2 separate regions of the Homo sapiens genome follow, and region 1 is linked to region 2. Evidence: promoter capture Hi-C in human tissues and cell types (Jung and others, 2019). All regions are on one chromosome and are shown on one strand. The core of a region is centred on a gene start or on the middle of the fragment in contact, and the rest is flanking DNA. Distances in the headings are between cores, read along the strand shown. Region 1 has its middle 20 kb from the start of GIMAP4. Region 2 holds the start of GIMAP7 (GTPase, IMAP family member 7).

The links. The method cuts DNA at HindIII sites, captures the fragments that hold promoters and counts their contacts. A contact is called where the count stands out against the background at its distance.
Region 1: a contact is called between a fragment that was not itself captured here and the fragment with the promoter of GIMAP7 in region 2, in 1 of the 25 tissues and cell types used here (psoas muscle).

Annotation. Positions count from the first base shown.
Region 1 is chr7:150,544,950-150,548,967 of GRCh38, forward strand. No RefSeq gene overlaps it. Among named protein-coding and RNA genes, the nearest start is that of GIMAP4, 20 kb to the right of the region's middle. The HindIII fragment of the contact is 5,501 bases long and covers 1-4,018 here.
Region 2 is chr7:150,512,431-150,516,243 of GRCh38, forward strand. GIMAP7 (GTPase, IMAP family member 7) reads left to right here and starts at 2,442. Exons shown (of 2, transcript NM_153236.4): 1 at 2,442-2,515. It also overlaps the pseudogene STRADBP1. RefSeq lists enhancers at 2,164-2,323, 2,334-2,593. The HindIII fragment of the contact is 14,588 bases long and covers 1-3,813 here.

The DNA of each region.
Region 1 (4,018 bases), core at 1,481-3,980, 33 kb after region 2:
CAAGCAAATGAAAAGCAAAAAACAAAACAAAACAAAACAAAAAGCAGGGGTTGCAATACTAGTCTCTGATAAAACAGACTTTAAACCAACAAAGATCAAAAAAGACAAAGAAGGGCATTACATAATGATAAAGGGATCAATGCAAGAAGAAAAGCTAAGTATCTTACATTGATATGCACCCAATACAGGAGCATCCAGATTCTTAAAGCAAGTTCTTAGAAACATACAAAGAGACTTAGACACCCACATAATAATAATGGGATTCTTTAACACCCCACTGTCAATATTAGATAGATCAATGAGACAGAAAATGAAAAAGAATACTCAGGACGTGAACTCAGTACTGGACTAAGTGGACCTAATAGACATCCACAGAACTCTCCACCTCAAATCAACAGAATATACATTCTTCTCAGCACCACATAGCACTTATTCTAAAATCAACCACATAATTGGAAGTAAAACACTTCTCAGCAAAGGCAAAAGAATGGAAATAATAACAAACAGTCTCTCAGACCACAGTGCCATCAAATTAGAACTCTGGATTAAGAAACTCACTCAAAACTGCACAACTACCTGGAAACTGAACAACCTACTCCTGAATGACTATGGGGTAAATAACGAAATGAAGGCAGAAATAAATAAGTTCTTTGAAACCAATGAGAACAAAGACACAATGTACTAGAATCTCTGGGACACAGCTAAAGCAGTGCTTAGGGGGAAATTTATAGCACTAAATCCCACAGGAGAAAGTGGGGAAGATCTAAAATTGACACAATTAAAAGAACTAGAGGAGGAAGAGCAAACAAATTCAAAAGCTAGCAGAAGATGAGAAATAACTAAAAGCAGAGTAGAACTGAAGGAGGTAGAGACACGAAAAACTCTTCAAAAAATCAATGAATTCAGGAGCTGGTTTCTTGAAAAGATTAACAAAATACATCGACTGCTAGCTGGACTAATAAAGAAGAAAAGAGGGAAGAATCAAACAGAGAAAATAAAAAATGATAAAAAGGATATCACCACTGATCCCACAGAAATACAAACTATCATCAGAGAATACTATAAACACCTCTATGCAAATAAACTAGAAAATCTAGAAGAAATGGATAAATTCATGGACACTTACACACTCCCAAGACAAAACCAGGAAGAAGTCAAATCCCTGAATAAACCAATAACAAGTTCTGAAGTTGAGGCAGTAATTAATAGCCTACAAATCAAGAAAAGCCCAGGACCAGATGGATTCAGGGCCAAATTCTACCAGAGGTACAAAGATGAGCTGGTGTCATTCCTTCTCAAACTATTCCAAACAATAGAAGAAGAGGGATTCCTCCCTAACTCATTTTATGAGGCCAGCATCATCCTGATACTAAAACCTGACAGAGACACAACAAAAAAAGAAAATTTCAGGCCAATATCATTGATGAACATCGATGCAAAAATCCTCAATAAAATACTGGCATATCAAATTTAGCAGCACATTAAAAAGCTTATCCACCACGATCACATCAGCTTTATCCCTGGGATGCAAGGCTGGTTCAACATATGCAAAGCAATAAATGTAATCCATCACATAAACAAAACCAATGACAAAAACCACGTGATTATCTCAATAGATGCAGAAAAAGCCTTCGACAAAATTCAACACACTTTATGCTAAAAACTCTCAATAAACTAGATATTGATGGAACATATCTCAAAATAATGGGAGCTATTTATGACAAACGCACATCCAAAATCATACTGAATGGGCAAAAGATGGAAGCATTCCCTTCGAAAAGGTGCACAAGACAAGGATGCCCTCTCTCACAACTCCCATTCGACATAGTATTGGAAGTTCTGGTCAGGGCAATCAGGTAAGAGAAGGATATAAAGGATATTCAAATAGGAAGAGAGGAAGTCAAATTATCTCTGTTTGCAGATGACATGATTGTTTATTTAGAAAACCCTATCATCTCAGCCCCAAAACTTTTTAAGATGATAAGCAACTTCAGCAATGTCTCAGGATAGAAAATCAATGTGCAAAAATTACAAGTATTCCTATACACCAATAATAGACAGCCAAATCATGAGCAAACTCCCATTCACAATTACTACAAAGAGAATAAAATACCTAGGAATACAACTTACAGAGATGTGAAGGACCTTTTCAAGGAGAACTACAAACCATTGCTGGAGGAAATAAGAGAGCACACAAACAAATGGAAAAACATTCCATGCTCATGGATAGGAAGAATCAATGTCTTATAAGTGGCCATACTGCCCAAAGTAATTTATAGATTCAATGCTATTCCCATGAAGCTACCATTGACTTTCTTCACAGAATTAGAAAAAAACTACTTTAAATTTCATATGGAACCAAAAAAGAGCCCTTATAGACAAAGCAATCCTAAGCGAAAAGAACAAAGCTTAAGGCATCATGCTACCTGACTTCAAACTATACTACAGGGCTACAGTAACCAAAACAGCATGGTACTGGTACCAACACAGATATATAGACCAATGGAACAGAACAGAGGCCTCAGAAATGACACTGCACATCTACAACCATCTGATCTTCAACAAACCTGACAAAAACAAGCAATGGGGAAAGGATTCTCTATTTAATAAACGGTGTTGGGAAAACTGGTTAGCCATATGCAGAAAACAGAAACTGGACCCCTTCCTTATACCTTATACAAAAATTGACTCAAGATGGAGTAAAGATTTAAATGTAAGACCTAAAACCATAAAAATCCTAGAAGATAACCTAAGCAATACCATTCAGGACATAGGCATGGGAAAAGACTTCATGTCTAAAACACCAAAAGCAATTGCAACAAAAGCCAAAATTGACAAATGAGATCTAAGTAAACTAAAAAGCTTCTGCACAGCAAAAAAAAAAAAAAAAAAAAAAAAAAAAACTATTGTCAGTGTGAACATGCAACCTACAGAATGGGAGAAAATTTTTGCAATCTCTCCATCTGACAAAGGTCTAATATCCAGAATTTACAAGGGAGTTAAACAAATTTACAAGAAAAAAAAACCTCATCAAAAAGTGGGCAAAAGATATGCACAGACATTTTTCAAAAGAAGACATTTATGCAGCGAACAAACATAAAAAATTAGAGAAATGCAAATCAAAACCACAATTAGATACCATCTCATGCCAGTTAGAATGGTGATCATTAAAAAGTCAGGTAACAATAGATGCTGGACAGGATGTGGGGAAACAGAAATGCTCTTACACTGTTGGTGGGAGTGTAAATTGGTTCACCCATTGTGAAAGACAGTGTGGCAATTCCTCAAGGATCTAGAACTAGAAATCCCATTTAACCCAACGATCCCATTACTGGGTATATACCCAAAGGATTATAAATCATTCTACTATGAAGACACATGCACACGTATGTTTATTGCAGCGTTATTCACAACAGCAAAGACTTGGAACAAACCCAAGGGCCCATCAATGATAGACTGGATAAAGAAAATGAGGCACATATATGCTTGGAATAGTATGCAGCCATAAAAAAGAATGAATTCATGTCTTTTCAGGGACATGGATGAAAGTGGAAACTATCATTCTCAGCAAACTAACAGAGAAATAGAAAACCAAACACCACATATTCTCACTCATAAGTGGGAGTTGCACAATGAGAACATATGGGCACAGGGAGGGGAACATCACACACTGGGGCCTGTCAGGAGGTTGGGGGCAAGGGGAGGGATAGCATTAGGAGAAATACCTAATGTAGGCAACAGGTTGATAGGTGCAGCAAACCACCATGGCGTATGGATACCTATGTAACAAACCTGCACGTTCTGCACATGTATCCCAGAACTTAAAGTATAATAAAAATAAATAAATAATTAAATACTTTAAAGAAAAAAGAAAATTATGAGTTTTTTCTTCTTTAATGAGTTGTCAAATAATAAAAACCAAAAACAGTGTTCAAGGCTAGAATCTAATGACAGGTATGTTATAGGTTTCTTTTGAAATACAATTTCTTTCTTTCTTTCTTTCTTTCTTTCTTTCTTT
Region 2 (3,813 bases), core at 1,192-3,691:
TAGATTCTCCAGTGCACCAACTGTATTTTCAAGTATAATTCTGGTATTTGTACCTAGCAATACAGAAGAAAAAGCAGCAAGGAGAAAGTGTCAAGTATATAGGACATAAGATGATTTGCCAGCCCTAGCTAGAATTCCCAATATGAATCTTTTTCATCAGGAAAACCACATTCTGGCTCAGTCCAAGGTAACACCGGAGGCAGTGATATTGATGGCTTGTTATAAGCAGGAGGCAACAGTGAAAGTACCGAATCCTGGCTTTCTTCTTTCATCTGTTTGAAGAAAACATGGGACAATAAACTGCTTGCTGATGGCCTTTTCTCCGGATCTTGTTGCAAACACAGCTGTACCCAGCTAAAGAAGGCAGGAGAGAAGGTTTTTGAGGATGGTGTGTGTAATCGGTCACTATTTACTGTGTGAGTTCCACTGGAGACAAGCACACTTGCTCCAATCCCAGAGTCTACACCTGACCGGGAATTTTTCATTTTGGATTCTGATTGAGGGAAAATACTGATATCCAATGGGCTATAAGGGGGACCTTTCAGTTTCTGTTAACAGCATCTGAGTTCTATGCACGTCCTGGAAAGGCACCTGCCCACTGGCTAATTCACATGTTGTAATCCCAACACTGTAAATATCTGACTTCACATTATACCCATGTAAATCCTGTCTCAGTAGTTCTGGACTCAGCCATGGCTGCACTAATGTGCTGAACTGTGGGAAATCATACACAGCCCTATGCCTCTGTCCATGCTTAACCAAACTATGCAGATGGGACAGGCCAGAGAGGGTCACTAGGCCATCACCAGAAATGAGGATATGGCTGGCTTTAATTCTCCTGTGAATACAGCCATATTGGTAGAGATAGTTCAATCCTCTCACTGCTCCAAAGAGAATGTTTCTTATTAAAGTTTTACTCATTCCTTCAGGAAAATAGGTCCTCAAGAGTTGTCTTGCTGAACCATAGGCCATAAATGGAGAAATAACCCAAAGCCAGCTGCCAACAGTGAAAACTGTCCAATAAGTTGTAATATTGGGATGCCGGAAAAAGTGGGATAGAATCATGGCTTTCTGTAAAACTTTCAGGCGTTCTTTATTGCCGTTTTCCAGATTTGTAATTTTTGTAGTTACCAGCGTTCCCGTAGGAGTATGCCGTGCTAGATGGACAGAAGTCAACTTGTCAAATCCTCTTCCTATTTCTACTTGGAGCTCGTAGTGAGAAACGTTGGCGGAACATACTACTTCACTGGCTCTAGTGGATGGAGGCGACCAGGAAAGGGTTGGCTCTTCGACCAAGTATTGATGGATACTGGTTTCAGACTTGTTTTTCATGTTTGAGTGATTCAACTTGTGTTCTTGAACTAAAGCTCACAGAAAGTGACAAAAATCCAAATATTCCAAAGAAGGCTTTTGTTTTATCTTCCTTTGAAGATGCAGATATATCCTACTTAGCGGCGACGACGGCCAGCGACTCCCTACAGGCTGCCAGTGGTGCGGACCTGGGCGGGTGCCGGAGCCCGGATCACAGAGGGGCAAGGCGAGCGCTCTAGGCCCACTCCTGGCGTGGGGCGCTGGAGGGTGGCAAGGCCGCGACAGGGGCTGTGGGCTTGGAACTCTAAACATAGTATTCTTACGTAGCCAACTGGAATATCTGGTCAACCGTGAGAGCTTTGGGAACCTGCCTCTCACCTCAAGAAACCTCCAGAGCAGATTGGAACCATCCACTGGGTAAATTCTGGAAAATCTGTCTCTGCCTGAGACTGGGGTAGGAAGATGTGGGGTAGAGAGGAAGGTGGGGAAGGGATGTAGGATCTATTCCTTGGGTGCATCTTTACTTGTTAGGTCATGCATATTTTCAAACTTGGAAGAATTATACGAAAAGCAACTAGAGAAACTATGTGTTCATGGGCAGATTATTTTTCCAGGCGTCACCTTCCTTTTTTTCCCTTGGTTCCTAATGATTTAGACTCTGCCTTTGAGCCTCAGTGCTGTTAACTTTTGAATGAGTAACTTGAGGCCTTCCTGAAAGACTATAATAAAAAACCCATATTATACAATCACTAAGAACCCCCAGCTCTACGCTTGGAAATGGCAAGGTATATGCCTGTCTCTCTTCTTCCCCAAATCACCCCTCAGCCTCCCACTCCACCCTGGGAAGACAATCAGGTCCTGTGCCTTGTTTTCTAGGCAATATTTGGGTCATTTAATAAGGCTCTTTTGCATCCATCACTATAACCTGAAGCGAAAAATGTAGCTTTGGAAATGGTGTTTATAGCAGGCCCATGGGCAAAACGTTTCAACCGGGCAAAACTGAAGCAATCACCAGATTATGGAGCCGTATTTCTGTTTCTTTAAAGACAAACATTTTTGTGTGTGTGGCTCCACCCAGCCTGAGCTTCCTGACTGAGAGGTTTTGGTGGCGGTACAGACACTTTTAACTCACAGTAAAAGCAAAAGCAACAGCTCAAGCAGCCTCCTTGGAGAAAACCTGAAAATTCAACTTGTTCAAGAGAAGGTGAGCCTGGCTGAGAAGAGGGTCTGGTGCTATTGGGCTGCGAAGGGCAGTGGGGACAGGGTGTGTGGCTGGAGTGGACTCTGCCCTTAGGAGGGACAAGGCACTGTGCTAAGCAGCACTGCATAGAAGGTGCTGTGGGAGGGGTGAGTAGAAGGGGAGTGAGGAGATTTGTTTGCATGGAGCCCATGCATCTCATATGTAACAGGACACACATGGCTGCATAGTGCACCCTCCACTCACTGGCTGTTGTGATAGACACAGAGTGTTGCCTGATAACCTTCATAAGAAATTAAGGGCTCCTAAGACAGATTTGTAAAGGTGACAGGCAATTTAGAGTCCACCTGTCTAAGTCCCTCTTCTTACAGAAAAAGAATCAGAATCCCAATCCCAGAGATTTTGATGATTCTCCAAGGGGTACCCAGATCACTCATGGCGGAGGAACACTAGAATTCAGTCTGCTGACTTTTTCCAGCATTAAGCAGAGACAAGCTGTGTCCCTAACAGTGTAACATGTGGGGCTGCTGCGCCATTCAGTACAAAAAGAGTTGCCATAAAAGACCTTTATAGAAATCACTCTATGAAAGCCTAAGGACAACCCTGCAAGATTGGTTTTATTTTCCTTTTTTATAGCAGAGGGAACTGGATCTCAAGGAGCTACGAAATTTTCTAGAACCGGTGGGTCTGGCCACAGTTTAGAACTGTTCACCTCTGTTGTAAATGCTTTTGTCATTTCTCAGCCTTTCTCTTAGCTGGAGGTCCTCTGGATCTTCCAGGAACCACTTGAGAAAGTTTTAAAACTTGAGAAAGTTTTAAAGTGATATTTCTGACCATCTCTCTCACGTTTGGCTTCTCAATATGAGAGAGATGGAAAAGTCCACGAGAAATGCGGAGCCCTCCTCACGGTTCCCTTATAACAGGCTGGCTCCCAGCTCACCTTTTTGCAGAAAGCGTGGATCATCTCCTTTGCCCTCCACTGGTCTATCTCTGTGCCATGTCAATGAAAATTTAGAATCATGGCCTGAGAGTAGCCAAGAACAGGCAGTAGAGTGCACGGTTAAGAGTGAGCATGGTAGATTCAGACAGACTTTGAATCGAATGTCTTCTCTGCCCAATACCTCTTAGCACAGTGACCAGGGGCATGTTTCCCAGAATTTTTGAGCCACACCAGCTTCCTCATTTAAAAAATTAGAATAATAAAATTAGTTTCACTGTAGAGTATTTTTGAAGAATAAACGAGATATACAAAACATGTTTTATCAGGGTGTTCTGATATGCAGTCTCTGCTCGATAGTGGTTAC